2 separate regions of the Homo sapiens genome follow, and region 2 is linked to region 1. Evidence: promoter capture Hi-C in human tissues and cell types (Jung and others, 2019). All regions are on one chromosome and are shown on one strand. The core of a region is centred on a gene start or on the middle of the fragment in contact, and the rest is flanking DNA. Distances in the headings are between cores, read along the strand shown. Region 1 holds the start of FOXQ1 (forkhead box Q1). Region 2 overlaps LINC01622 (long intergenic non-protein coding RNA 1622).

Region 1 (4,658 bases), core at 862-3,361:
TCACTCTAAAAATAGCAAAGGGTTTCCAGCTGAGAATTCACCCACCTCCAACTCACTCTCTTGCCCCCCAACCTTTTCAGGCTCCAAACTTGCAGACAGCAGCCCACAGGATAGACATAAAAGGTGGGGCAGGTCCTTGCCCCCCTTGCCCCAAATGAAATCAGGGTAAGGAGAGGATCCCCTGCAGCTGGGGAGGGGAGGAGGTTGGGTAAGAAAGGGGGAAAGTGGGACATGGAGGTGGGGTGAGCCACCTTCCCTGGCGGCGACCAGCATTCCTTGGTGGCAGGACACCTTGGCCCTGGAGTCTCGAAGAGGCCTCCCTTGGACTCTGTAGCGACCACGGGTCCCACCTCAAGCCTCCTTGGCTTTACCTTCCCCATCAAATAGTCATGTGCCCTCCTGCCCTGCCCAACCCCAGAGTTCAAGAGAGAAAAACATTCATTACGAACGCCTTTTATCCCTGGCCAAATCCAAGCCTCTTTACCTCGCTATATATATATAGATATACATATTTGTCTCATCCCACTTCCCTCTCCAGGTCTAGTGAACCATCAACTCCAAGGCTAGAGCTGAGCAGACCCCTCCAGAAAGGCTCATCTCCCAAAAAGCAGCCATTCCCCACCTGGCTCCCGAGGCGCATACTTAATAAAGTCAGTCTAATCTCCGAACGCGATCCTTCCCCAAATACAAAAATAACAGAGCTGTGGCTGGGGCTGTCATGTTGCCCGCCCCATTGTGAATGGCTTCAAAACTCCCTGAATAAAGATAAGAGAGGATTGTGTACGTTTTCAACACAAATGGTGGAAAGTAATAAAATAAACATCAAAGGTGAGCTCCCACCTACTAGCGGCTCCGTCGCTTTTTGTGCAACAAAGGCAGGAAAAAGGAGGAAACTCGGCGTGGCAGGGCAGCGGGCTGGAAGTGCACCTTCCCGGGGCCGAGGCGCCCGCTCCCTGGACTAATGACGCCGCGTGGGGATCACGCCCCGGGCGCCCTGGGGTGAGGAACGGTCCCCCCTTTCGAGATTGTCCGACACTGGTGCCAGTGAGGTCACAGCAAAAGTCCCAAAGGAATATTGGAAAGAAATGGCCGTGAACCGGTTTGTTCTTGCCCCCGCCCCCGGGAACACGCCCTCTCCGTCGTTCCTGTTGACTGTCAGATCCCGGGAACCAAGCGGCGGAGCTCGGCGGCATCTGAGGCTTCCGCAGGGACACAAGTGCAGGCACAGCCCAGCACCCTGCGCCAGACACAGCCGCCCCAGGGGAAGAGGAGGACGCTGCTGTCCTCCCGCAGGAGTCACCAGCCAGGTAAAGAAAAAGGTAAAGTAAGACAAAGAAAAGTGAAAGTCGGAGCCCATTTAGTGAGCAAGAGTAAAGGTCATCCAAAAAGGCGCATACAATTTCAAGCCCAGGAGTGCATTCATTAAAACAAGAGGAAAAGACAAGATGGTCCTTGAAAGGAGCTCATAGGAAGGGGCACAGCACAAGGCTCCCGAAAGAGGTCACTGCAAGTGTCCTGCGCAATTTCTGTTCAGCACCTCTGCAGTGACGACAGGGGTTTGCTTTCGTAAGCAGCATCGTTTTCACTACTACAGAAGCACATACGCCGCGTGCAGCTTAGGCCCGAGCAAAGTCCCTGCTCCCCTAGACCCAGTCCCTTCAGGTGTCCCCCTAGGGGAACTGTGGCGTGTCCCCCCAACCAGGCGCACTCGCCTAAACTGCGTCCCCGAACTCCAGGGCGCAGGGAGCCCTCGCGGGCTGCCCGGGGCTGGGGCCCACACCTGAACGGAGGAGCCGGCTGGCGGAGCGGCCCCGCGCGCGCACACACGCACACTCACAGACACGCGCAAACCCACAGCGGCGCGCGCGCTCCCCATTGGCGGGAGGAGGAAGGCGGGGCCGGCCGACCCAAAACAAACAACCTGCGCCAGCGACTTTGCCGCCGCGCTGCAGTGTGGCCTCCGCCTGGTGCGCGCCCGTTGGGGAGCTGGGGAACTGGGGAGCCGCCACCACCTCGGCCACCTCGTTCCCCCACCCCTTGCCGTCCGCGCTCAGGCCCCGCCCCCGCGGAGCCGCCGCAGGGTTATATTGGGCCGGCCCGAAGGTGGAGGCGAGACGCAGCCGCGGCAGGCCAGCGGGGAGATGCTGCCCCGGAGGCTGGGAGCGGGAAGGCGGCTGCGGGCGCAGCGGCCTCGGGGACTCGCCTCCGCGGGTGCTCAAGGCTGAAGGCGCCGGACCTTCCCCCACGGTGGCACGCACATCATCCGGCACCATTTCCGTGCCCCGAAGACGCCCGCGCGGGACCTGGGACCGCCAGTGAAGAACCCCTCCTGGGCTCTTTAACGAGCAGCAGATGCGCATGCTGCTTCTCTCCGGCAGGAAAGCCTTCTAAGCCCGGCGTGCTCGGGCACCCGAGGGTGGAACCGCGGCCCCTGCACACACTCACCCCAAAGTCTCAACGTCGAACCGAAGGCGACACCCACCCAACTCCTCCCTCTCCGCCCCATAGTCCACCCAACACTTGCAGCCCCTCCAGAGAAAAAGCCCAGCGGAAGAGGACTCCGGAAAAGTGACTATCTCGGAAGACCAGGGTAGAGCTCCCGGGAGAAAAAGGCGAAGATCCCCGGCCCCGGATCGCCATCCCCTTCCCTGGCACCAGCTTCTCTAGGCTGCGCGAAGGAAGAGGGTACGACGCCGGGGAGGGACTGGGTGCGCGGGCATGAAGTTGGAGGTGTTCGTCCCTCGCGCGGCCCACGGGGACAAGCAGGGCAGTGACCTGGAGGGCGCGGGCGGCAGCGACGCGCCGTCCCCGCTGTCGGCGGCGGGAGACGACTCCCTGGGCTCAGATGGGGACTGCGCGGCCAACAGCCCGGCCGCGGGCGGCGGCGCCAGAGATACGCAGGGCGACGGCGAACAGAGTGCGGGAGGCGGGCCGGGCGCGGAGGAGGCGATCCCGGCAGCAGCTGCTGCAGCGGTGGTGGCGGAGGGCGCGGAGGCCGGGGCGGCGGGGCCAGGCGCGGGCGGCGCGGGGAGCGGCGAGGGTGCACGCAGCAAGCCATATACGCGGCGGCCCAAGCCCCCCTACTCGTACATCGCGCTCATCGCCATGGCCATCCGCGACTCGGCGGGCGGGCGCTTGACGCTGGCGGAGATCAACGAGTACCTCATGGGCAAGTTCCCCTTTTTCCGCGGCAGCTACACGGGCTGGCGCAACTCCGTGCGCCACAACCTTTCGCTCAACGACTGCTTCGTCAAGGTGCTGCGCGACCCCTCGCGGCCCTGGGGCAAGGACAACTACTGGATGCTCAACCCCAACAGCGAGTACACCTTCGCCGACGGGGTCTTCCGCCGCCGCCGCAAGCGCCTCAGCCACCGCGCGCCGGTCCCCGCGCCCGGGCTGCGGCCCGAGGAGGCCCCGGGCCTCCCCGCCGCCCCGCCGCCCGCGCCCGCCGCCCCGGCCTCGCCCCGCATGCGCTCGCCCGCCCGCCAGGAGGAGCGCGCCAGCCCCGCGGGCAAGTTCTCCAGCTCCTTCGCCATCGACAGCATCCTGCGCAAGCCCTTCCGCAGCCGCCGCCTCAGGGACACGGCCCCCGGGACGACGCTTCAGTGGGGCGCCGCGCCCTGCCCGCCGCTGCCCGCGTTCCCCGCGCTCCTCCCCGCGGCGCCCTGCAGGGCCCTGCTGCCGCTCTGCGCGTACGGCGCGGGCGAGCCGGCGCGGCTGGGCGCGCGCGAGGCCGAGGTGCCACCGACCGCGCCGCCCCTCCTGCTTGCACCTCTCCCGGCGGCGGCCCCCGCCAAGCCACTCCGAGGCCCGGCGGCCGGCGGCGCGCACCTGTACTGCCCCCTGCGGCTGCCCGCAGCCCTGCAGGCGGCCTCAGTCCGCCGCCCTGGCCCGCACCTGCCGTACCCGGTGGAGACGCTCCTAGCCTGAGTAGCGCCGCGGGGCCCGGGAACGCCGAGTGCGCGCCGTCGGGGAGGCGGGAACGCGGGCCCGCGCGCGGACTTTGCACTTTGAATCCAGAGGAAGATGAATTTTTAAAATCTCCATCAAACGTGCCTTAAAGCTAAAGCATTTTGACAGGAGTATTTAAACTTAGTCCAGGATATTTTCCTTTGTGTTTTATAACTTTACAGAGGACCAAAGCAATTCTTGTTTTAGTTTCTTTGCGAAGCCTGCTCCTCCTTCCCTTCATAAGGACTTTTTTTGTCTTTCTTTAACGCCCAGGCTTCGTCTTATTTCTACTGTTTTTGTCGCAACTTCCATTGATTTATGTCCCTTCCCTCCCCCCTAAGTACATCAGGGAACCTTTCCACACTATAAATGATATGACTACTGTTTGGGGTTTCTGGGCCCCCATCCGTGTACGTATGTGGCATTTCCAGGTATGACTGAGTGTGAGAGACATGTCAGAGGCTCTTCAGTGATTTCTTGCTATTGACCGATGCTTCACTGTGCCAAAAGAGAAAAAAAATGTTGGGTTTTGTAATTAAATTATTTATATATTTTTGAAACCCGAATTGAAAATGTTGCAGGCAACGGGCTACAGCTTTATTAGTGGTTCTCTAACTGTGGTCTCCTTGGGCCAAGCAATTTCTTTAAAGGAAAAGTTGATTATGTATGTGGGGTGCCAGGACCACTGCCTTGAAAGCAAGTGTGAT
Region 2 (4,658 bases), core at 673-3,172, 230 kb before region 1:
TGTATAGAAAAAGTTAGAAAATACAGTAATGCACTCACATATACTTCCCACTCAGCATTGTCAAACCGTAACATTTGATACATTTCAATGTTGTTTCACTGAAACACAGGGAAAAAGAATAGAGGGGAAATTCCTTAACCTGGAAAACACAGCTACAAAAATTCCACAATTGGGCCCAGCGTGGTGGCTCACGCCTGTAATCCCAGCACTTTGGGAGGCTGAGGCGGGCGGATCACCTGAGGTCAGGAGCTCAAGACCAGCTTGGCCAACATGGTGAAACCCCATTTCTACTAAAAATACAAAAAAATTAGCCAGGCATGGTGGCACATGCCTGTAATCCCAGCTATTTGGGAGGCTGAGGCAGGAGAACCAGTTGAACCCGGGAGGCAGAGGTTGCAGTGAGCCGAGATCGTGCCATTGCACTCCAGCCTGGGCAACAAAAGTGAAACTCCGTCTCAGAAAAAAAAAAGGAAAAGAAAATTCCACAATTAACCACACCCTTCGTGTGTCATATTCTTTAAAGCTGAAAACAAGACAGACATGCCCACCTTGCCTCCTGTGTGCAGGGACTGGACTTGGGGGACCTGACAAAGATGAGAAAACGAATAGGGCAAGGATCCCAAAGGAAACTATGGAACTGTCATCATTCCATCCGGGGTGGTGGTGGGTTTCGTTGTTAACTTCTGATTTAACTGGATATTAGCTGGAGAATCTAGTGCGTACTAATTCTTGTATTTTGTCTTGTTTTGTTTTTCTGGGGATGGAATCTCACTCTGTTGCCCAGGCTGGAGTGCAGTGGTGCAATCTCGGCTCACCGCAATCTCTGCCTCCCAGGTTCAAGCAATTCTCCTGCCTCAGTCTCCTGAGTAGCTGGAACTACAGGCGCCCACCACCACGCCCGGCTAATTTTTTGTGTTTTTAGTAGAGGTGGGGTTTCACCGTGTTAGCCAGGATGGTCTCGATCTCCTGACCTCGTGATCTACCCGCCTCAGCCTCCCAAAGTGCTGGGATTACGGGTGTGAGCCACCACACTTGGCCCTAATTCTTGTTTGTTATTGAGATTTACATTCAGGCTAGTTCTTGGTCAATTTTAGGCAACGTCCCGTGGGGGCTTGACTAGAATGTGTGTATTCTACTAGGGGAATGCAGAATTGCCTATATACAGTTAATAGCGTCAACTTTGTTAGTTGCATAGCTAGAAACAGCATAGAAATGCGCTTGCTGTGCTCTAAAACCTTTCATTGCTAATGAATGAAGGGGATAGATTGTATAACATCACACTTAGGAGTGTGCTGTGTGCCAGATCATACACACCCCAGAAGGCCCAAATTGTCACTGACTGTCCCTCTCTTGAGCATGGGACATCGCCAAGAAGGAATTACTCCATATCCAAATAAGCCACATGATCATAGAACTAATTTGTTCCTTTGGGTGGTTGAATTTCCTCTATAGAGATCCCAGGAGGCAACATGAATCCCTCCAGGGCTGGACTGCACAGCCTCCATTGATACCCTCCAGTGACGGGGCACTTGGCCTCTGGTGACACGTCCCCTGGGAATGGGAACTTACTCTGTCATCTTTCAAACCACCTTAAGTGGCTCCAGAAGGGCCAGGACAAAATCCTTGACTTTTTTTTTTTTCTGGCATTATTTGCCAATTCCTTTAACAAATATTAATCAAGCACCTGCTGTTCTAGCCCCTTGGAGTAAACAGTGAGCAAAGCTTTGAGGTGCCTTCCCTCACAGAGTTTATTATAATTTAGGGATAACTAAGTTAGTAGTTTTTCCATTTTCTCCTTGTAAGCCTGTCAAGTTTTGCTTTAAATACATTGAGATGATGTTACTAGGGTTGAAAGAAAATAGAATTGCCTATTTTCTTATTGTTTAGTGCCTTAAAAATTCTTAATAATGATGTTTTACCATAATGTTAAGCTTGTTATGAATATAGCTTCCCAGCTCTTCTGAATCTGCATAGTTCACCTCCACGTGCTGCAGGGCCATTGACGAGAATTCCCGGGGGAGACTTTTGTCCACTCCCAGTCCAGAAAAGGCAGAAAGGCCCAGTGTTACCATAGCTGTTTGATGGGAGGCGTTTCCTTTATGCTGCTCGCTCACTGAGACAGCAATCCCTAATGGCCCTGGTGAGAGGCAGGATTCAAGCACGGTTCTCAGCGCCCACCTCGCTTACGCTGAGCGGCTGCAAGCCCAAGCTCTACGTCCCTGGGATGCCACCCACCCACCCCCAGCCTGCCTCAGCCTATGGGCTCCTTTTTCTATTCTGATCCCGGAAGCAGCCCATACTTTTTTGCAAGCTCAGCTCCACATTTAAAAAGATGTTTGCTTCCGTCTCCCATGCTTTGTCCTGGACATGCAGTGAGTGAGAGTGAAGCTTGCGTCTTCTCTGTAGACCCAGCCATGTTGCTTCCTTCCTTTTCTCAGCTTATTTTCTCCATGGAGCTGGCCCCAAGGTGCCATGAGCCTGAGACTTAGGAGAAAGTAAAAGGCACCACTGAAGACTAAATCTAGGCTACGTGCTGCAGCTGAGATTGGAACCTGTGCTTAGATGTGAACTTCCACATGGGTGCTTCCTTGAAGAGTTGAGCACTCATTCAGACCTTTATAAATTGCCAGATCCATTGAGTTTACCAGCCTCTCTGAGATCACAGGCTCAGGAATCAGATGACTGGGTTTCAAATCCTACCACTTACTAGCTAACTTGTCTGTGTCTTCAACTTCCTCATCTCTAACTAAACATAGTAATTCCTAACTTATACATTTGCTGCAAGGATGGGGCTCAATGGGCACTGGGATAGATTCTACAACACCACATAGTGCAAACTAAGGAATGGCATTTACTGGGGAAATTTAGAAACTAGGAGTCAGGCCCCAAAGGCATAGGGGTCTCCATCTTCTCATAATCCTATGGAAAACTGAACCAATGCAAAGACAAAGCTCTTTGCCATGCAGTGGGCTGCAGTCCTGACCTGAGTGTCCTATCTCCTCGAAGGATGAACACGAACACCACTTTCCAGTAAGGAGACAGGGGGACCACTCGATTGCCAGGCCGTCGGGGTCTAGATGCCAGCAGAGCTGAGAAGGCATCTGAGGAAGGCCAGCTGCCTGGCACCCAGGGAACATGGGTCCTGGGGAGAGGGGCAGCTCTCCTCTTGGGGAATGTTTGCGGCTGGTCCTGTGGGAAACTGAGTTTAGGTGCACATCCTCCTTCGAGGAGGCGGGGAAACTCCAGTTCCAGCCAGCTCATTTCCTAGATCATGTAGACTGAGATCTCAGGATCATTTTTTGAATAGTTCTGCTTGTTGGCCCATGGAGAATTAAGCAAAATAAAGCACATAAAGTAGTTAGTATAGTATCTAACAAGTGCTCACTATATATTAACTGTTATTGTTTTAAAAGGATGTTTGCTAACATTTTCCTAGCGCTTAGAGATATCTGGATTTGGAGAGGTTTCAGATTACTTATCCACAGCATTTCTGGAACCAGAGGGCTTTCCTGAGAAGCGTTTGTAAAAGCAGGAACAACTTAACTTTTCTTACCTTCAGTCTCTCTCTTCTAAGTTTAGTCAAAGCTAGACTCAGGATCAACCCTCCACATCCAAATGTCCTAGGTCATTTGGGACCTGGTTAAAGGGGGCTTCAAATCACCTTGTCCACACTTGCTGTGGCAGGCAGAGTTTAGCAGCTTGAGGAAGCTGAGGCCTGAAGTATTTTGGTTTATCAGGTAACTCTGAACCTTGAAAACGCCAAACATGCAGATTGCCTGTGTGCATTTCATACTCCCCTGCAAAGCAGCTCCTCGCTTCACAGGAAGAGGCGGAACTTAAATCCAAATACAGTTACAGTGTTTATATCCTGGGCTGCACTAGTTAAAAAGAACCTAAGATTTATGGCTCTTTTAGATCACAGAACCAAATCCCAATACCTCCTGTCAGATCTTCTCTCCTTCCAGAAGCAAGTATTTGGGGATTATAAAAAGTGATGTTATGGATGATGTCTCTTAAAATATCAGATCGACTTGATGGCAGGACCTGCTGTTCAAATTTCTTTAGAGACACCTCCTCGCTGCCCCGCCCTTGCCTCTCTCCCGACGAGTGCCAGCCCATGCGCACACACGCACAGGTGTGTGCCCAACCATGTGACTTCCCTGCTACCTCCAGACTAAGCGGGCATTTCCTTTACATGTGCTGTTTTCTCTGCTATTGTCTCCTTCCATCATCCTTTTATTTTAACATATGTTTACTAAATGCCATTGTTCTAGAAACATTGAGGCATATAAAAGTGAATAAAACCAGCAAATAAATTCCCATCCTCGGCCAAGCGCGGTGGCTCATGCCTGTAATCCCAGCACTTTGGGAAGCCGAGGCAGGCGGACCACCTGAGATAGGGAGCTCACGACCAACCTGGCTAACATGGCAAAACCCCGTTTCTACTAAAAATACCAAAAATTAGCCGTGTGTGGTGGTGGGCACCTGTAATCCCAGTTACTCAGGAGGCTGAGACAGGAGAATCTCTTGAACCCAGGAGGCGGAGGTTGCCGTGAGCTGAGATTGTGCCACTGCACTCCAGCCTGGGAGACAGAGGGAGACTCCGTCTCAAAAAAAAAAAAAAAAATCCCCATCCCTAAGGACCCTATATTCCAGTG

What was found. Contacts are between HindIII fragments. The study calls those that stand out against the background at their distance.
Region 2: a contact is called between a fragment that was not itself captured here and the fragment with the promoter of FOXQ1 in region 1, in 2 of the 25 tissues and cell types used here (dorsolateral prefrontal cortex and lymphoblastoid cells).

The regions. Positions count from the first base shown.
Region 1 is chr6:1,309,987-1,314,644 of GRCh38, forward strand. It overlaps FOXQ1 (forkhead box Q1), which reads left to right and starts at 2,112. Exons shown (of 1, transcript NM_033260.4): 1 at 2,112-4,658. The coding sequence starts at 2,719. The coding sequence ends at 3,930. RefSeq lists an enhancer at 2,566-3,282. The HindIII fragment of the contact is 14,044 bases long and covers 636-4,658 here.
Region 2 is chr6:1,083,527-1,088,184 of GRCh38, forward strand. The region is part of intron 1 of LINC01622 (long intergenic non-protein coding RNA 1622); the gene reads right to left. Among named protein-coding and RNA genes, the nearest start is that of LINC01622, 15 kb to the right of the region's middle. The HindIII fragment of the contact is 4,020 bases long and covers 1-3,932 here.